Regions from separate parts of the Homo sapiens genome. Here all the other regions are linked to region 3. Evidence: promoter capture Hi-C in 16 types of primary human blood cells and fetal thymus (Javierre and others, 2016). All regions are on one chromosome and are shown on one strand. The core of a region is centred on a gene start or on the middle of the fragment in contact, and the rest is flanking DNA. Distances in the headings are between cores, read along the strand shown.

Region 1 (2,700 bases), core at 116-2,615, 860 kb before region 3:
AGGGACCCAGACTCCCTGTGTCTCTCATATCCCGAGACGCAGACCCTGTCAGGGAAGGGGCATGTGGCAGCGGGGCAGGCATGCCTGTGCCAGGCTGGGGCCACCAAGCACTGGTGGCAGCATAGACCTTGGGGTCTCTCTGTGCACAGCAGGGCCACCAGCAGGGCCAGGGCAAAGGTCTTCATGGTGTGGGAACTGCTCATTCTCGCTCTCTCTGGCCGGGCTGCAAGGCAAGTGGTCCCTTCCCCTGCCCCGCCATCTTTTGGCCTCACCTTCCTCCCTCCCCATGGAAGGCCCACACTCCTGTGTTCCTTGTGGCACTGCCTGGTCACAATCTCAAGTCCTCTTCCTTTCTTCCCTACCTGCACCCCCCACCCCCTAATTCAAGCCTCGGCGTCTCCACCCTCCCCAAGCCATCCCTGCCCCATCAACGAGGGCCAGCTCTATGCCCCTGATGACCTGCCAGCCTCCTGAGCCAGGCTGTGCACTCTCTGACTGCCAGGCCAGCCTCTGTCCTGCTTCCCCTACTTCCTGCTCAGAGCCGGTCATGCTGAGGCTGCGATGGAGACCTGGGAGCAGGAGGCAGCAGGGGATTCCTTGGGCTGTGGCTCTCATCATTGCTGAGAGAGGGAGAAAGGGCCCGGCCATTCCTGACCACAGCCCTGGGCTCCTGCACTCAGCCGGGCACTCACTGCATGCCAGCCTCAGACAGGGCAGTAGGGCCGCCTGGATGTGTACTGAGCCCTTCCAGCCAGGGCTTCAAGGCCGGGTCACAACTCCCGGCTCAGTGCCCAACTCCTCAACCCCTCAGCATCCACCTGCCCAGCTCATGACAGGGAGGACAAAACAAAGGAGGCCCCTGTGGGACTACACAGGCCAGCTCCTGACACTATATAGGTGGGGAAACTGGGGCCCAGAGAGGGGCGGTGACTTGTCCAAATTCATGGGCCCAGAGCTGGGCTCCTAGGCCTCTCTCCCGGGCGGCCTGAGTTAGGCCGTGGTGCCGTCAGTCCCGGAAGGTTGGGACACCCACGGCAGTACCTGACTTGCCGGGGCCCAGCCTCCAGCCCACAGCCCTGCTTTGAGCAGCAAGGGAGGCTGCCCCGCCCCCAGCGTCTCCTCCTGCCTGACTGAGTTTCCCAGAGCCAGCAGAAAGGCAGGGCCGATGCAGGTCTGAATCCGCCCAGGGATCTGGCAGTCCCAGCTGGCTTGCCCTGCCCTCGAGCCCTGGGAGCGGGAAGTGAGCCTCCCCACCTCAAATCCTCCACCTTCCCTGCCACCCACACCTTCAGCCCGGGGCCCAAACATGGCAGGGAGCCAGGCCCCTCACCTCCCTCCTTGGTAACCGAGGCAAACACCCAACACTGGAGACTGTTTGTCCTGCCAACGCTGCACCCCAACCTGAGCCCAGACGCCCTGCCGCAGTTGGGAGAAGCCTGGCTGGGGGAGGGGACGTGGCAGGGGCAGCCAGAACCTGTGGGCTTGGGGACCCTTCCCCTCCACTCCAGTTCCCCAGGAGCTTCTGAGTGAGCACAGGGCAGCGGGGCTGTTGTCTCAGCACCTTTGACTGTGAGGCCCCCAACCTCAGCCTCTGCTCCACCCCTAAGACTGTGCGCCCGGAAGGTGGAGAAGGGCTGGCTGGGGTGAGAGGGTCTGTGCTTGAACTACAGCAGAGAAAGAGAGCAGAGGGAGAAAGTTCTCTCTGGCCAGCCCAGCTGTGGGAGGGCTCAGGGAGGGAGGCCAGTGGGCCCTTTCTTTGCAGGCAGGGAGGGATGGGAGATTCTACCAGCGCCAGACCTGGGGGGCTCTGCCTCCTGATCCCCAGGGTCTGGGTGGGCACCGTGAGGCACTCCAGCGTCGCGTTTGGGGGCTGGCTGGGTGGGCAAGGAGGTGGATGTCAGGGCCTGGGGAGGCTGGGGTAAGGTGGCGCCAGGAGGGGACGGGCAGTTTTTCTGGCCTTCACTGGCCTGTGGTTTCCGCAGTGCAGGGCATGGGACTGTGGGGCGATGGAGCAAGGAGGATGGAGTTTCTGTCCCTGGGAAGCCTCTTGTCTGAGGGGAGACATGCCCCGAGCCTTCAGGGACCGCCTAGTCGGAGGGGGAGACACAGCCCTTGTCCTGGGGAGTTTGGAATAACCGTATTGGGGCCAGGGACAGAGGATGATGGAGTCACCCTGCTCTGCATGGAGCACGGGACCACCCGGCCTCACGGGGCTGGGCAGACGCTTCTGTTTCTTCTGCATGGAGCACGGGATCACCTGGCCTCATGGGGTTAGGCAGACGCTTCTGTTTCTTAGGAAGAGGTCTGTTTGCTTCTCAAATGCTTCCCGGGAACCTCCTCCACCACTGCAGCCCTGCACTGTGGGCAGGAATGTCACTAGCCCCCTTTTACGGATGAGGAAACTGAGGCTCAGGCATCTGGGAAAATGTGCTGTGGGCAGCCCCCCCGGACAGAGCTGTGCTGGCACCCTCCAGACAGTGCAGGAGAAGGGCAGGTCCCACAGAGTCCCTGCTGTTCCCCCAAGTCCTGAGGCCAGGGGGTGCTGTCTCTACTCTCAGTCCCCTGCCAGGACCTGTCCCCTGGTTCAATCCCAGGCAGGCCAGCGGGGAGGGTGGGGTGGGAGACTTGGTTCTGCTGAGGCTGCAGCTTCCCTGGCCCACCTAGGCTGAGTCAGGGCTGGGCAGGAGCCGAGGGCAGCAG
Region 2 (2,700 bases), core at 85-2,584, 760 kb before region 3:
GCTCCGCTGTTAATATGCAACTGTTTACTCTTCTCTGGTTCTTTTTCTGCTACCTGCTGTCTTCCTCATCTACCATTTTACATATCTTTTTATTTATTTTATTTATTATTATTATTATTTTTTGAGACGGAGTCTCACTCTGTCGTCCAGGCTGAAATGCAGTGGCACGATCTCAGCTCAATCCAACCTCTACCTCCCGGGTTCAAGCGATTTTCTGCCTCAGTCTCCTGAGTAGCTGGAACTACAGGCACCTGCCACCACGCTGAGCTAATTTTTGTATTTTTAGTAAAGACGGGGGTTTCACCATGTTGGCCAGACTGGTCTTGAACTCTTGATCTCAGGTGATCCACTTGCCTCGGCCTCCCAAAGTGCTGGGATTACAGGTGTGAGCCACAAGGCCTGGCCCATTTTATGTATCTTTTCTCTACCTCAATTTGGGAAATTCTCCACCTTAAGTGTGAAGCTCCCCAAGGGAGAGGTCAGAAACTTGCTTTTCCGAGCTCACCTGCATCTAGGGCATGGGCCCCTGACAGCCCTGCCACTCAGGTGCGCCCGCACAAGACGTTTTTTTTTTTTTTTTAACCATGGCACCCCATTGGAGTGAAGGACTTTGATTTTGATTTAAAGGAGGTGCTGAGTGGAATTTTTTATGGCAGGAACAAGGTTGGGCAGAGATATGTGATTTTTTGAGGAAGCAATAGCAGCGGCTCTGGCAAAGACATGCAGTGCCCATCATCCATAGTTTGAGCTTCAATTTTGGTGGCCAGAAGTGACAGCAGTGGTGTGTTCCTAGAGCAATCCTTGAGTGTGATTTGGGGAATTTTTCTGTTTGCATACCCTCCAAGTTTGATTCTCTGCACATCCTGGAAAAGATGCCCAGTAGTTGCTCATTATTTCACAGGGAATACATTCAAAGATCCTGACTGGATGCCCAAAACTGTGGATAGCACCTAAATCTATCTACACTATGCTTTTTCCTACACATTCATACTTAAGATACAGTTTACTTTATAAATTAGGCAGACCAAGAGATTAACAACAATAACTAATAAAATAGAATCGTTATAACAATATACTGTAATAAAAATTATTTGAATGTGGTCTCTCTCTTTCAAAATATCTTATCATACTGTAGATCTTAGCAACCTCAGCGTATGGTTTTTTTCTTTCCGTAGTAAGTTTTGAACTGTCATCTTTTCTCTTAAAGAAAGCATTTTGCTGGCTGGGCGCGGTGGCTCATGCCTGTGATCCCAGCACTTTGGGAGGCCAAGGCTGGAGGATCACCTGAGGTCAGGAGTTTGAGACCAGCCTGACCAGTATGGAGAAACACTGTCTCTTCCAAAAATACAAAATTAGCCAGGCATGGTGGCGCATGCCTGTAATCTCAGGTACTTGGGAGGCTGAGGCAGGAGAATCGCTTGAACCCGGGAGGCAGAGGTTGAGGTAAACCGAGATCACGCCATTGTGCTCCAGCCTGGGAAACAAGAGCAAAACTCCTTTTAAGAAAAAAAAAAAAGCACTTTGTGGCTTCCCTTTGGCAAATCTGAATTATCAGCATCACTGCTCTTGCACTTTGGGGTCGTAATTAAGTAAAATAAGGGAACACAAGCACGGCAATACTGCAACAGTTGATCTGACAACTGAGACAGCTACTAAGCGACGACTAGTGGGTGGGTGGTGCATAGAGCATGGAGAGCTGGACAAAGGGATGATTCCTGTCCTGGGCTGGACAGAGTGGGGCAGTGTGAGATTTCATCATGCTCTTCAGGGCAGCACACTTCAAAACTGACAAATTGTTTATTTCTGGAATTTTCCATTTAATATTTTTGGATGACAGTTGACCACAGGTAACTGAAGCTGTGGAAAGCGAAACCATGGATAAGGGGAATGACCGTGTTGCTTTCTCTGCAGGTGAAAGCATATTTATTCTGGTACTCTTTGTTTATTGGGATAAAGAAAAAAGAATTTCCCACAGCAGGTGCCAGGGTCAATGGTGATCTGCTTTAGAAAAGGGACACAATCTGGATCAACGACTGCTGTTGGAACAACCATGTGATAAATTGTAAAATAATTCATGGCTATTCTCTAACATCTGTTCATGTTCTGCACAGAAAAACTAGGCAAGTTAACCCTAAATTTATCATTTTTTTTTTGAGACAGGGTCTCTCTCTGTTGCCCAGGCCGGTGGGCAGTGGTACAATCACAGTTCACTGAAGCCTTGACCTCCCAGGTTCAAGCAATCCTCCTACCTCAGGCTCCCAAGTAGCTGGGACTACAAGCGTGTGCCACCACGCCAGACTAATTTTTGAGGTTTTTTTTTTTTTTTTTTTTTTTTTTAAACTAGAGACAGGGATCTCACTCTATTGCCAGGGCTGATCTTACATTCCTGTGTTCTCTCCCCATCTTGCCCTTCCAAAGTGCAGGGATTACAGGCATGAGCCACCACTCCTGGCCCATCAAATCTTTCATGTGGCACTAATCTCTGTCATTCCCTTAGAGATGTAGTGTTGCTGGTCCTTTTTCTAAACCACGTAATCCTTACTGGTAAGGATCAGGATCCTTTTACTGACTATGTCTAGTCCACTCCAGACACTGGGAAATAACCACAGGATTGGTCTGGGATACCACTGGGCTCATGAGAAGCAAACTTGGGCTAAAACTCCATTTGTCATCTGATCTCTATATTGGTTAGATTCTCAA
Region 3 (2,865 bases), core at 295-2,794:
TCCACTCCCATGACTACTCTGTGGACTTTGGTGACACCTGGAGTTGTGCCTACTTTAAAATTCTAAATTCTGGTTTCCACTATCCAATTTTAGCCTGTCATCCTTCACCTTTATCAATCTCCTCCTCACACTCCGCCTGCTCCATGACCTCATAAGGATACCCAATGACTCACCCTCTGCCCTTTTCTTCAGTCCATCTGTCCCTCTGGTTTTACTTTCTTCTTGCTATATGATCATACAGTCAATCGCCTCAATTGTTTTCTCAAGAACACCAGAAATTTCTTTGCCACTATTTCCTTCTTCTGGACCTGTCTTCAAATCCCAAAACCCACATCAATCTGATCATCATCCTTTCTATTCCTGCACCAGGATTACTTCCAAATATGCAGTTGAACATCATTATAAATGAGAGCTGGACCCTCCAATTTTCTTTTACTCATTGCTAGTCAAGTATTTTTCCAGTTCAGTATACATATTCTAAACAGTCATTCTTGCTATCAGTCACCTTCATCTGGAACATTCTGGCAACCCCTCAAATCCAGTTGGTCCAAACCTAAACTCAGTGTCTTCCTCCTCCTCTATTCCCCATCTCAGTGAATATTATGAGTTCCCAGAATCTAAAATTAATTACCTAAGAGTTATCCCCAATTCTGCCTTATTCCCTACTCTCCAAATTCAATCATATTACCATATGCTCTCAAAGCCATCTTCTCTGCATCCCCACTGCCTTCATCCTTCTCACCTGGACCATTATTCCAACCTTGTAATTGACCACCTTGTTTCATTTCAACCTGATCATTTTGCCCTCTGCTTTTTACTTAGGATTCATTACAAACTCTTTAGACCAGCACAGAAAGCTAACCATGATCCAGCCCCTGTCTGGACCTGACAATAGATTTCTTAAAGATTGTAATCACGCATTTTTCACTTCTGCATTTAGTTAACACTATGTCTTTCATTTTAGCACTTAGCATAGAGCACCAAACATCATAACCATGCTATTTTAAACAAAATAATAGGTCAATATTTGTGTCATTGTCCAAGATAATAAATAGATGTTATAATCATGGTAAGAACAGAGATGTCACTAGCCTCTGTTTTCTAAATAACACATTTTTTTCTGGTGGGATAAAATATCTGTTTCTGTAATTAGCAGTCCTTTATACCCCTCCATGGTAATTGAGACCCTACTGTACCTCACAGAACTCTATCATAATCTTACTTAACTTTATAAAAAATTTGATAATACCTGGCGCCAGATAATGACAGTATATGCCTAGGGTCTAGATGAAAGGAAAGGATTACTCACTCAAAATTAGAAGTTAAATTAATAAACTTAATATAGAACAAACCCTATTATATTTAAGATAAGAAATAGCCCAAAGCAACACCGAGGGATGTTAGACATTAATTATTTTTAAAATCACCCAATTATACATAATTTTATGCTAATCTAAGTGATGCCATTTTGCTTTTGGCATGTATAACTCAAATAGGAACGCCCCAATAATGATATATAAAAACCCAAAGAAATTATCAGTGCATGATATTCTGTTCTCTTGGGACATTACAGTTTTGCATAGACAAGGTGAACATTTCTCAAAACACCATGTCTCTCCAATTTTCTAATGGATCCAGGCATGTTTGCTTAAGGTCTGGAGCTGGATCTGTCAGACCCCTCAATGGAGGTGCAGGCTTTGCAGGCAGCAGTGCATGTGGTGGCTCTGTTGCTGGAAGTGAATTTTCCTGTGCCTTGGGAGGGGGCTTGGGCAGTGTTCCTGGTGGGAGCCATGCTGGTGGTGCCCTTGGAAATGCTGCTTGTATTGGCTTTGCTGGAAGCGAAGGGGGACTCCTCTCTGGAAATGAGAAGGTGACCATGCAAAATCTTAATGACCGCTTGGCATCCTACCTGGATAATGTGCGAGCTCTGGAGGAGGCAAATGCTGAATTAGAGAGAAAAATCAAGGGTTGGTATGAAAAATACGGACCTGGATCTTGCCGTGGACTTGATCATGACTATAGCAGATATCACCTAACAATTGAGGATCTTAAGAATAAGGTGAGAAATCACAGATTTGGAACTAACCCAAGTATTTAAAACTAAGAAATACCTAACAAAAGACATACAATAAGAAATGCTTCATGACTGTTATAACTTGTATTTATTTATTTAGATAAACAATTCTTCCTACTATTCAAAAATGGGCCCTTTGATTCATGAATTTTAATGTAGTTAAAATGTTATTAGTTCCATTGTTTATGTTGAAGTACATTCATAGGCATATGAATAAAAAAGTATTGTAGTTCTAAATTTAGGGGAATATATGAGAATAAATAAAACCATGTCTTTAATTTTTAAAAGTTAAACTTGAAACATTTTGATTATTACATAAGGAGGTGAAATTTTTATGCAAAAACTTGAGTAACCTTTTTCATTTCCTGAAATAATGAATCACATAAAAGCATACTTACTTGTTGTGTTCTCTGTTTTGGTTTATTCTAGATTATCTCCTCCACTACTACTAATGCTAATGTCATTCTGCAGATTGATAATGCCAGACTGGCTGCTGATGATTTCAGGCTAAAGTAAGTGACAGAAGAAAATCCTGCTCTAGAAAAAAGTTTCTATTTATTTAATTTGTTAAATAAAATTTCTATTTCATCCCAAGTAGAATGAACTATCACCTAAAAGATAAAAGGAAGCAAAGGATTTGTATTATAATGTTACAATCAACTTATACATAGTTATTATATTCCTGGGACAAAATATCAATATATTTCTCTGCCTGCCTAGAATACTGCCAAGCACAAAGTAGATGCTCAGTAAATCATTAGTCAACTAAGGAAAAACGTTAACTAAAATAA
Region 4 (2,750 bases), core at 227-2,726, 910 kb before region 3:
GGCTTTATCATAAGAAAATGATAAAAATTTTCTCTTGTCAGAATACATTTGTATTAATAAAATACTGTACTGCTTTTAAGTTTTTCTTTTTTTCTTTTCTTTTTGTGAGACAGAATCTTGCTCTGTCTCCCAGGCTGGAATGCAGTGGCTGGCGTGATCCTGACTCGCTGCAGCCTCGACCTCTTGGGCTCAAGAGATCCTCCCACCTCAGCCTCCTGAGTAGTTGGGACTACAAGTGTGCACTACTATGCCCAGCTAATTTTTTTGTTTTTATTTTTAGTAGAGATGAGGTCTCACTATGTTGCCCAGGCTGGTCTGGAACTCCTGAGCTCAAGCAATCTGCTTGCTTCAGCCTCCCAAAGTGTTGTGATCACAGGCATGAGCCACGGTGCCTGGCCATTAAGTTTTTCATAATCAGGTTTTCTGTTAGGTTTTCTTTGGAAGAAAAGAATTCTGCTGCTGAAGAAATGTTTGAAAAATCAGTGATCTGGAGCTGTATTGTCAGATGCTAACCACATGTGTTGTTCAGTGCTATAGCCACCAGCCACATGTGGCTCTTTACATTTAAATTAATTAAATTAAAAAATTATGGTCAGGTGCAGTGGCTCACGCCTGTAATCCCAGCACTTTGGGAGGCTGAGGGGGTTGGATCACTTGAGGTCAGGAGTTTGTGACCAGCCTGGCCAACATGGTGAAACTCTGTCTCTACCAAAAATATGAAAAATTAGCTGGGTGTTGTGGCAGGCGCCTGTAATCCCGGCTACTCGGGAGGCTGAGTCAGGAGAATTGCTTGAACCTGGGAGGCAGAGGTTGCATGTCACTGCACTCCAGCCTGGGTGACACGGCGAGACTCTATATAAAAAAACAAACAACAACAACAACAAAAACTTCCTTACACTAACCCCATTTCAAGCGCACACGTGGCTAGTGGCTACCATATTGAACAGTGCAGATGAAGACCATTTCCTGCATCATAGGACGTTCTTTTGGATGGCACTGGTCTAGGAAAGGGCTTGAAGTGGGATCCAGGAGCTGTGGATTCCTATCCCAGCCTTGCCTAATAATCCCTGTGACTTTGGGCAAGTCACATCTTGCCTCTGGGCCTCAGTTTTCTTGTCTGAGAGAAAGGAGAAGAACCCCAGTCCTCCTCACCTCCCAGGGCTGGGAAGAGTGTGAAGGGATAGGCTAAGGGCAGGGCCCCGGCTGCGGCAGAAGGGCAGGTGGAAGGCAAGGTTGGGAATACCAGGGTAGGTACTGGAGCCAAGACCTAGTTCCATCCTGGGATAAAGAAAGGGTCCCAGCTCTGGAGACCCCAAGGGGTGAGCCCCAGACTCTGGCCAGTGGCCTGGTACCTTGATGGGGGAGAGGACCTGTCAACCCACTTCCTAGCCTCTCCCCTCTCCTCCTGGGTTTTCTCACCTGCAGAGCTGGGAGGTGTGTGGTGCCACGGCTGGGCCTGGTGCCTCTCAGGTCTCTGCTCTGCTTGATGCTCCAGGCCTGCCTTATAAAGCCCTCAAGGTCCCTCCCAACTGTCCCCCCACCCCGCCCCTACCCTGCCATATGAGTCCAGGCGAGAGGAATGGGGTGGGGCACAGGTACAGCCCATCACCCTGCCCCGCCCTTTCATTTAGTGTCAGTCAGTCATCCAGGATGTGGGGGAAGGATAGGGGAGTTGACCTTCATGGTGAGGGGCTGGAGCGGGGTGGCGGCAGCTCTCCAGCTGTACCTGAGGGGCAGGAACCAAGCTCCCTGGGTCAGGAGCAATGCTTCCCACCATATCCTGGGGGTCAGAGGCCTGGCACTTATCTCTCGAACTACATAGGGACCTTTGTGGGTGGTGGTAGGTGAGGGAGTGAACCCGATGGGCTTAGATTCAGGGAAAGTGGATTTCGCCATCCACTGATGTTTGGCAAGCGTGTGAATGTGGGGTGATGTATTGATTCCCCGTCCCCTCCACTGGACTCTGCAAACATAACGTGTTACCAGGAGCAATGGGTTGTGGGCTGATGGCCCTGTTCTCTCCTTCTAGTGGCTCACATCCTGGTCACCTCTGAAGTCCTTTCACCCTCCCCCTACCATGGAACACCCTTGGTGCCTTCTTCTCCTTAGGCCCTCTGTGCTGGGCTGGGTTTGGCTTGTAGCTGCCCCGTGTCTTCTAGGTCAGCTGCCCATGCACCACCACTTGCAAACCCCCTATGCAGAACCAATTCCTGGAGGGTCCTGCCTTTGAAGCCTCCTTCATTTTGCTTTCAAGGGGAGCTAGTAATCTGCATAACAACTTTTTTTTTTTTTTGAGACAAAGTCTAGTTCTGTCACCAGGCTGGAGTGCAGGAGTGCAGTGGTGTGATCTCGGCTCACTGGAACCTCCGCCTCCTGGGTTCAAGCGATTCTTCTGCCTCAACCTCCCTAGTAGCTGGGATTACAGGCGCACGCCCCCACGCCTGGCTAATTTTTTGTATTTTTAGTAGAGATGGGGTTTCATCGTGTTGGGCGGGCTGGTCTCGAACTCCTGACCTCATGATCGGCCCAGCTTAGTCTGCCAAAGTTCTGGGATTACAGACGTGAGCCACCATGCCCAGCCAACAACTTTTCAGTATCAAAATATACCTTCAAATGGTTAGCAAACAGACTAAAGCATTTGCCAAAGATGGACCAGAAAACAAAATGGTACCTTGTTGACTTATTTGATAAACTGCTGCCTCCACATGGTTTGACCAGATGTAATGAGCCGTAGGCTGTTTTTTACTTTT
Region 5 (2,863 bases), core at 34-2,533, 900 kb before region 3:
AGGGGGCAACAAGGGTGCATGGTGCCTAGCAGGAGACCCCACTGCACTCCAGCCTGGGAAACAGAGTGAGACTCTGTCCCCCCACCAAAAAAAAAGTTAAAAATTGGTCAAGGAGCTCTTAATTGAAAAATTGTAAAGCCTTGTGCACAGTAAACTGTGTTTTTACACTACTGCCACAAGGGGGCACCATCGAGGCTGATAAACCAGGAAGGGGGTCATGTTCAGTTCTCCAAATATGCTATGTGTTTTTCTGGCTTATTCATAGAGTTGACAGCAATTGGAATAGGTTCTAAAGTTGTTTTGTAGCTTCTTATGCAGTTTTAGCTGACCAGTTTTCATTTTGTCTTCATAACACCATCTTAAGAAACACTCAGTTTGTCCTTGCGTGTAGCTGTTGCAGCGTGTGGGGATGGGGGCAGGAGGGCTGGGGGGGTTTGGGGTGGGAGAGGAGGACTAAGGAGCAGAGAGCTGAGGGACCTTTTCAGCATAATCAATCTTTCTTTTTTTTGTTGTTGTTTTTGTTTTTGAGACGCAGTCTCGCTCTGTTGCCCAGGCTGGAGTGCAGTGGCACGATCTCGCCCGCCACCACGCCCAGCTAATTTTTGTATTTTTAGTAGAAATGGGATTTCGCCATGTTGACCAGGCTGGCCTCGAACTCCTGACCTCAAGTGATCTGCTGGCCTTGGCCTCCCTAAGTGCTGGGATTACAGGCGTGAGCCACTGCGCCGGCTTCCAGGTGCCTTTTCACCTCTGGGTGTGACTCTTTTTCTCTGCTCGAAATGCTTGGCTTCAGACAGCACCTCCTTTATGAAGCCTTCTTGGCCCCCTTGGCTGAGGATGGGAGTGGGGAAGATTTCGCAGTCCTCAGAGATCCTGTGGCTCTTTGGGTCCCTTTCTGTCCTGCGTCAAGGCTGTGTGCTGGTCTTACATCTACCTACCAGGCAGTCAGCTCCCTGAGTGCAGGGGGTCTGCCTGACATGCCCTGTAGTGTACTACAGATACCAAGCACTCAACAATCTCTGTAAGATGAGCATTTATTTATTTATTTCTGCTCCCACTCCACCGGGAAAATGAGTTACAGAAATTGTGAATGTACAGGTGCAGCTGGTGGGAGGAGGGGTACACAGGGAGTCCTGGGTTCTAGATGAGGCTCCACAACTTACCTTGGGAATGTCCACATCACATTGTTTTCTTTTTTTGAGACAGTGTCTATCTCTGTCACCCAGGTTGGAGTGCAGTGGTGCCATCTTGGCGCACTGCGACCTCTGCCTCCTGGGCTCAAGCCATTTTCCCACCTTGGCCTCCCCAGTAGCTGGGAGCATAGGCATGCAACACCACGCCTGGCTAATTTTTGTATTTTTTGTAGAGACAGGGTTTAGTCATGTTGCCCAGGCTGGTCTCGAAGTCCTGGACTCAAGCAATCTGCCTGCCTTGGTCTCTCAAAGTGCTGGGATTACAGGCATGAGCCACCATAACCAGCCATCATGCCTTCTTTTTTTTTTTTGGAGACGGAGTCTCGCTCTGTTGCCCAGGCTGGAGTGCAGTGGCGCAATCTTGGCTCACTGCAACCTCTGCCTCCTGGGTTCAAGCGATTGTCCTGCCTCAGCCTCCCACCTGGGACTACAGGCGCACGCCGCCATGCCCGGCTAATTTTTTGTATTTTAGTAGAGACAGGGTTTCACCGTTGTTGCCCAGGCTGGTCTCGAACTCCTGAGCTCAGGCAATCCGCCTGTCTTGGCCTCCCAAAGTGCTAGGATTACAGATGTGAGCCACCGCGCCCGGCCCATCATGACTTTTTAATTATACTTTTCTTCATTCAGCCTGAGATAGGTTACATCAGGTGGATAAGGGTGTTCACCAACTTCCTCAGTTCTGTGTTCACAGATACTTGTTTCGCTTGGCTTCACAGAGCTGATTTAATAGATGTTGATGGTTTAACTTGGAATAATCCCATCCTAGAGAATTGGAGGTCCTTAAAAAGCATGAGATGGAACAGCCTAGCACAGAACCTGGCCGTGTTCACAACCTACAGCATAGAAGGAATTCTCTTCTCTTGCTGTTTCATCCTGATTGTAGTATTTTGTGTGTTTGGCCTCCCGCCTTGCTCTAGAAGTTCCTCCAAGAAAAAACCTCCTACATTACAGTCAAATCTTACTGATTTAAAAGTCTCACCCAGCCAGGCACGGTGCTCATGCCTGTAATCCCAGCACTTTGGGAGGCTGAGGCAGGCGGATCACAAGGTCAAGGAGATCGGGACCATCCTGGCCAACATGGTGAAACCCTGTCTCTACTAAAAATACAAAAATTAGCCAGTCGTGGTGGCACGTGCCTGTAGTCCCAGCTACTCGGGAGGCTGAGGCAGGAGAATCGCTCGAACCTGGGAGGCAGAAACTGTAGTGAGGCGAGACCGTGCCATTGCACTCCAGTCTGGGCAACAGAGCAAGACTCCATCTCAAAAAAAAAAAAAATTCACTCAAATATTTTGAACAATGCCACTGTATTTGGAGCCTTGGTTGGCTCCAAGGCTAAATTATTTTGTGTTCATGAAACAGACTGGTTTTGTAGGACCTTTAACACGACAAGCTCCTGATGCTGGGGTTAGAATCATTGCTATAGTTTGAATGCTCCACCCAAACCAAAACCCATGTTGAAATTTAATTGCCAATTGAACAGTTATTGGGAGGTGGGGCGCTTTTTTTTTTTTTTTTTTGGAGACTCTGTCACCCAGGCTGGAGTACAGTGGCAGTGACATGATCACAGCTAACTATAGCCTTGGCTTCCTGGGCACCAGTGATCGTCCTTCCTCCTGCCTCAGCCTCCTAAGTAGCTGGGACTACAGGTGTGTGCCATCATGCCTGGCTAA
Region 6 (2,821 bases), core at 25-2,524, 840 kb before region 3:
CACTGCTCAGGCTCCATGACCCTAACAATTCAGCAAGCACTCACAGAGCACCTGCTGCATACAGCCCGCGCTGGTTCTGGGCAGGGGTGTGGGGTATGGGGTGGGCACCATCCTAAGGGTTGACAGTTAATCCTTGCGGGGGCTCGTAGGAGCCAAGGCCAGCTGGGCAGACGGGGCATGACCTTGTCTTTTTGTTTTTTCTTTTGTTTTTTTGAGATGGAGCCTCGCTCTGTTGCCCAGGCTGGAGGGCTGTGGGACGATCTCAGCTCACTGCAACCTCCACCTCCCGGGTTCAAGCGATTCTCCTGCCTCAGCCTCCTGACTACCTGGGATTACAGGTACTACCACGCCTGGCTTATTTTTGTATTTTCAGTAGAGTCGGGGTTTCACCATGTTGGCCAGGCTGGTCTCAAATTCCTGACCTCAAGTGATCTGCCTGCCTCGGCCTCCCAAAGTGTTGGGATTACAGGTGTGAGCCACTGATCCTGTCCAGACCTTGTCAACCTTGTCAATATCAATATGCATCTATTGGCTGGGCGTGGTGACTCACTCCTATAATCCCAGCACTTTGGGAGGCAGAGGCAGGAGGACTGCTTGAGCCCAGGAGCCTGAGACCAGCCTGGGTAATATAGTGAGACCCCATCTCTATTTAAAGTAAAAAAAAATGCATCTATTGAACATCTCCTTTCCATAGGGCCCCAGATCATTCTACGCCCTCTGCCTCCCCACAACATAGTAGGGGTGATATTAGGGGACACTGTCCCCAAACCCTAGCTCTGCTCAAATTCCAGGCAGGTCCTGTCTGTGCTGCGCTCTCCAGCATGCTGGCTTTTCTGCACTCTCTGCAGAGGAGACTGAGGGGGAGTCAAGGTGGGGCTGGCACCCAGGGCACTGGGGGAAGCTTCAAGTTCTCCCAGCCACCTCCCTGGGCCTCCCCCTCTCCCACCTGCGCTGGGCTCCAGCAGCCTCTGGGGCTGGAAGAGCCATTGGACCTCTCCTTCTTTACCCCTTTGTCTTCCATGGGGGCCAAGCTGCTGCCGCTGCCGGGGCTGCAGGCCTGGGCTGCCCCTTGCGGGTGCCAGGGATCTCTCCCTGCTGGGGGTGGAGGACAGGCCCAGACAGGATGTGCCACAGCCCAGAGGACCTCTGTGTGGCCCTCCAGCCGGCCCCTGTCAAGCCTTCCTCCCTGGCTGGGAGAGTGGGAGCTGCCGAGGCCCTGGCTTCAGGCCCGGCTCTGATGCCAACATTGGGTTGCCCGACTGCCCGCTGCTCAAGCACCCTGTGTCTTGGTGTCCTCAAGGCACTGTTGTGAGGGTCTCAGGAGGAATGTTTGCATTTTCCTAGCCCTGGCCAGGGAGTGGCCCCACGCTCTGGAGGGCCAGGGAGGCCTTCCTGGGGTCCCACTTCTATCTCTGCTGAGATCTGAGCTGTGCCCTCCTGCCCGGCTGGCCCAGCTGGCCCGGCCTGTCCTCAGCATGTGAGGCTTCTCTGGGTTGGGGGCTAGAGGGGGATTCACAGGCAGTAGAGCCTCTAACGAGCAGTAGCAAAGGGGCCTGGGGGGGGGGTCAGTGGCGTGGGGAAACTGAGGCCCAGAGAGGAAGAGGAGCAGGCTCGCGGCCCAAAGCCTGTCAGGGGTGAGGAAGCTTGTGGGGGCTAAATGGTGGTATTGGGGGTTGGAGGCCTTGGTGATTTTAGAGGCAGAAAGAAGAGTAATAAACTCTCTGCTCCTTCAAATTGGGCCTCAAGACTAAGGTCTGGGTACTCTGGAAGTGGGGTTCCCAGGCAGGGTGAGCACTGGCGGTGTGGGCTCTACGGGGAGGCAGAGGGGTGGTGGCACCCCACGACCTGGCCCCCTCCCTAGGGCCCTGGCTTTGCCCCACATTTGCTGCTGGAAGGCGGGGCAGTCCCTTTTGTGAGCCCAGAGTGAGGCCCACCTGGGTAGCCCAGCTGGCCTAGGGGAGGATGGGGCCTGGGAAGGGAGGGGTTGTTAGGAGAGGATGGGGATGGGGAGGGTCTTGGTTTCGTGTCTCTTCGTGTGTGAGTGCCTGCTGGTGCAGTCTTGACTCTGGCGGCTCAGGTGAGCACGGGTTTTACTGGGTCTCTCTCCTCCCCGAAGACAGTCCTGGATTGCCAGGAAGTCCTTCCAGATGTCTAACCTCGTGCTCATGGTGGTCTGACCTTGCTCTCTAGCCTTGGTTTTGAACCTCCCCCCATCCCCGCCCAGCACCTTCACAGGCTGGGCGGGAGCAGTAAAATCAGGGCTCAACCGCTCTCTTCCAGATAGCTCCTGCCATTCCCAGCTGGCACAGTCCCCAGCTGGCACTTTCCGTGAGAGACCACCCACTATCTGAGCAGGAAGTCTTTCCAGCAGTGTGGTCTCATCTGGGAGCTCTGGGCCACATGGAAAACCCAACTCCCTCCCTGTCCCCGTATGCGGGCAGAGAGCCCAGGCCACCCATGCACTTCTCTCCCCTCTCCTGTTCCGCGGGCCCTGGCTGCCCTGGGAAGCTCCACATTCAGACAGGCCTGGTGCAGACGCCGGTGTCCTGGCAGCACCTAAATCATTAGTGCCGCGGAGATTAGGATACTAATCTCCTTGTTGGGTGGAGCGGTGCCAGCCACCAGCCTGCGGATCATGCTGCTCTTTTGCAGGGGCCGTTCCTCGGGGCATGACGCTGGCTCCTGCACAGATCCTGCTCCTCTGTGGCCTTCCTGGGCTGCCCTCCCCTCCTCCGGGACTGCTCTGGACTGACATTGCTCAGGTTCGGGTGAGGAGGGAGGCTGCCCTAACCCTTTGGCCTCAGACCCCTGCTCCCAGCCC
Region 7 (2,717 bases), core at 57-2,556, 750 kb before region 3:
GTGGTTGGGCAAGGGGGCACAAATATGAGCCAGACCCCAGCCTCAAGGAGCTCACTGGCTGGTAGAGGGGATAAGAGCCAATGAATTCTCACCCATATAGGAAGAGGACAGTGCCTGGGAGAGGGTCAGGTAAAGCACCAGAGGGGCTCAGAGGAGGAAGAGCGAGTGCCAGGGATCACAAAGGCCTGAAGGAAGAGGTGATGTATGAGTTCCACGTTGCTGCTGTAACAAGTGGTGGCAAACTCAGTGGCTTAAAACAACACAAACTTACTATCTTCTAGGCCTGGAAGTCAGAAATCTGAAATGGGCCTTATGGGCTAAAATCAAGGTGTCATCAGAAATGCTTTTTTTCTAGGGGCTCTACGGGAGAGTCTGTCTCCTGGCCTCTTCCAGCCTCCAGGGGCTGCCTGCCTTCCTTGGCTTGTGGGATCTTCCTCCTTCAAAGTGCCTCACTTTGACCTCTGCTTCCATGGTCCCAGCTCCTCTCTGTGACCTTGACCATCTCGCCTCTCTCTTACAAGGACCCTTGTGATTACTTTGGACTCAATCGGATAATCCAGGATAACCCAACCCCCATTCCAAGATCCTTAATGTAATCACATCTGCAAAGTCTCTTTCTGCCATGGAAGGTACATGCTCACAGGTTCCGATTGGCGTATCTTTGGAGGGCCATTATTCTGTCTACTCCAGGCAATGGTGAAGAGGCACAGTTTCAACCTGTGACGGCTGAGGGGAAGGACCCTGCAGGTGGATAGGATAGCCTGAGTAGAAGCAGGCATTTGAGAACCTAAGCACTATTGGCCAGCACCTGTGAGTAATTGCAGGAAGACTGTGATTTTGGGGGACAGGGCTGGAAAGCCAGCCTGGACATGGCCAGTGCCTTGCTCCATTTCCAAATAAATGCAGTTGGCCTCTGAGGCTTAGTGGCAACCGTCAGTGCCTGTGGCATGGCGGGGCTGGCGGGGGGCCTCCTGGATGTGAGGTGAGCCTTGCTGTTCAGTGTCCATCCCTCCCCGACCCACACTTCTCCAGGCCCAGCACGGCTTTATTCAGGACCTGCATGGTGAGTCGGACCCTCGCAGTTGTCCCCTCCGTGAGGCCCTCCATTGGCCCGTCTCTTATCCACCCACACCCCCACTGCCAACAGGCCCGCAGGCAGCACTTGTCCCCTCCCCTGCCTTCCCCAGCCTCCAGGCCTCCAACTCTCCCAGTGTTACGCCTCCAACACACTGAACTGCTCCCTCCCTGAACTCCCCGCATTGTCTCACCTGGCCAGGCCATTTCCCACAGCTTTCCCTGTGCCAGAAACACCCACCACCCGAGCCCTTTTCTTCCCACTCCTCATTCTTCAAATCTCAGCTTTTTGGAAGAACACTTTCCCCTTCCCTCCACCCCACCGCACAGGGAGCAGTGAGCGACTCCCACAAAAATCTTTTTTTTTTTTTTTGAGACAAGGTCTCACTCTGTCACCCAGGCTGGAGTGCAGTGGTGTGATCATGGCTCACTGCAGCCTCAACCTCCTGGGCTCAGGTAATCCTTCCACCTCAGCCTCCCGAGTAGCTGGAACTACAGGCACATACCACCATGCCCTGATCATTTTTTGTAGAGATGTTACCTAGGCTGATCTTGAACTCTTGGACTCAAGCAGTCTACCTGCCTCGACCTCCCAAAGTGCTGAGATTATAGGTGTGAGCCACTGTGCCTATCCTCTCACAAAATCTTTTATAAAAACCCATACCTGGCCAGGTATGGTGGCTCATACCTGTAACCTCAGCACTTTGGGAGGCCGAGGCAGGCAGATTGCTTAAGCCCAGGAGTTCAAGACCAGCCTGGGCAACATAGCAAGAACAGGTCTCTTAAAAAAAAAATTGGCCCAGGCATGGTAGTGCATGTTTGTAGCCCTAGCTACTGAGGAGGCTGAGGCAGGAGGATCACTTGAGCCCAGGAGTTTGAGGCTGCAATGAGCTAGGATTGCGCCACTGCACTCTACCCTGGGTGACAGAGCAAGACCCCATCTCAACAAACAAAAAACCCAAAAAACAGAACAGAAAGCTCCTCCCAGCCCACACCTGCTGAGTGGTTGTCCCCTGCGGTGATGACTGACACATGCCATTTAACCTTCATGTTGCTGGTAATAGCTCTTGATTTTATGGAGTGCCAGATACTGTGCTTCACACCTGATTTTTCATTTATTCCCCCACAAGCCCTCTGAGGTTGGTGTTATTAGCCTCATTTCAGAGGCGGGGACACTGAGGTTCTGACAGGTGAGGTAACGGCCGTTGCATGACATGGCTTTGAAATAAAATGGTGGCTCTGTGAATCAAACCCAGGCCACCCTGGCTCCAAGGCCTGGGCTCTAAACCACATGCCACACTGGTGTGATTATGGTCCATGTTTTATAGGGGAGGAAACTGGAGCTTAGGGAGGTGAATACCTGGGCCTGGCTAATGAGTGGCTCTCACCCCAAGGCGTGGCTCTTTTCAAAGGCCAGGCCTGTCACTGCCTTGCTACATGGTCACTGATTAATCTTGCCTGCTACGCTATACTGCTGGGCCTCTCTTTTGTAGCTATTTGTGTAGATCTTTCCCTCCCCCATTCTCCCCTCTCCCATCTGCTGGGAGCTTGTTGGGGGCTGGGCCTGAGTCTGTTTCGTCTCTGAATTCTGCATGTGGCATAGGGCCTGGCTCAGAGCCCACGCACAGCACACGAGTGAATGA

Evidence for each region. The method cuts DNA at HindIII sites, captures the fragments that hold promoters and counts their contacts. A CHiCAGO score of 5 or more calls a contact.
Region 1: a contact is called between a fragment that was not itself captured here and the fragment with the promoter of KRT28 in region 3, in 16 of 17 cell types (M0 macrophages, non-activated CD4 T cells, naive CD4 T cells and 13 more). The highest score is 33.3, in M0 macrophages.
Region 2: a contact is called between a fragment that was not itself captured here and the fragment with the promoter of KRT28 in region 3, in 7 of 17 cell types (M2 macrophages, M1 macrophages, M0 macrophages and 4 more). The highest score is 11.6, in M2 macrophages.
Region 4: a contact is called between the fragment with the promoter of GAST here and the fragment with the promoter of KRT28 in region 3, in 1 of 17 cell types (naive CD8 T cells). The highest score is 5.3, in naive CD8 T cells.
Region 5: a contact is called between a fragment that was not itself captured here and the fragment with the promoter of KRT28 in region 3, in 5 of 17 cell types (naive CD8 T cells, non-activated CD4 T cells, naive CD4 T cells and 2 more). The highest score is 9.2, in naive CD8 T cells.
Region 6: a fragment that was not itself captured here is called in contact with the fragment with the promoter of KRT28 in region 3 in 13 of 17 cell types (M0 macrophages, non-activated CD4 T cells, naive CD4 T cells and 10 more); the score reaches 11.5 in M0 macrophages.
Region 7: a fragment that was not itself captured here is called in contact with the fragment with the promoter of KRT28 in region 3 in 17 of 17 cell types (M2 macrophages, M0 macrophages, M1 macrophages and 14 more); the score reaches 25.7 in M2 macrophages.

What each region holds. Positions count from the first base shown.
Region 1 is chr17:41,654,349-41,657,048 of GRCh38, reverse strand. It overlaps LOC124904004 (a long non-coding RNA gene), which reads left to right and starts at 1,915. Exons shown (of 2, transcript XR_007065756.1): 1 at 1,915-2,700. RefSeq lists an enhancer at 2,104-2,700. The HindIII fragment of the contact is 2,956 bases long and covers 1-2,700 here.
Region 2 is chr17:41,560,750-41,563,449 of GRCh38, reverse strand. No RefSeq gene overlaps it. Among named protein-coding and RNA genes, the nearest start is that of LINC00974, 7.6 kb to the right of the region's middle. The HindIII fragment of the contact is 7,476 bases long and covers 1-2,700 here.
Region 3 is chr17:40,798,638-40,801,502 of GRCh38, reverse strand. KRT28 (keratin 28) reads left to right here and starts at 1,544. Exons shown (of 8, transcript NM_181535.3): 1 at 1,544-2,059; 2 at 2,504-2,586. The coding sequence starts at 1,610. LOC105371776 (a long non-coding RNA gene) reads right to left here and starts at 169. Exons shown (of 4, transcript XR_934753.2): 1 at 1-169. RefSeq lists an enhancer at 2,366-2,865. The HindIII fragment of the contact is 3,919 bases long and covers 1-2,865 here.
Region 4 is chr17:41,711,057-41,713,806 of GRCh38, reverse strand. GAST (gastrin) reads right to left here and starts at 1,476. Exons shown (of 3, transcript NM_000805.5): 1 at 1,420-1,476. The HindIII fragment of the contact is 7,695 bases long and covers 1-2,750 here.
Region 5 is chr17:41,693,471-41,696,333 of GRCh38, reverse strand. No RefSeq gene overlaps it. Among named protein-coding and RNA genes, the nearest start is that of EIF1, 6.0 kb to the right of the region's middle. The HindIII fragment of the contact is 4,888 bases long and covers 1-2,863 here.
Region 6 is chr17:41,635,234-41,638,054 of GRCh38, reverse strand. It overlaps the pseudogene KRT42P. Among named protein-coding and RNA genes, the nearest start is that of KRT17, 12 kb to the right of the region's middle. The HindIII fragment of the contact is 742 bases long and covers 904-1,645 here.
Region 7 is chr17:41,544,505-41,547,221 of GRCh38, reverse strand. No RefSeq gene overlaps it. Among named protein-coding and RNA genes, the nearest start is that of LINC00974, 8.6 kb to the left of the region's middle. The HindIII fragment of the contact is 7,630 bases long and covers 1-2,717 here.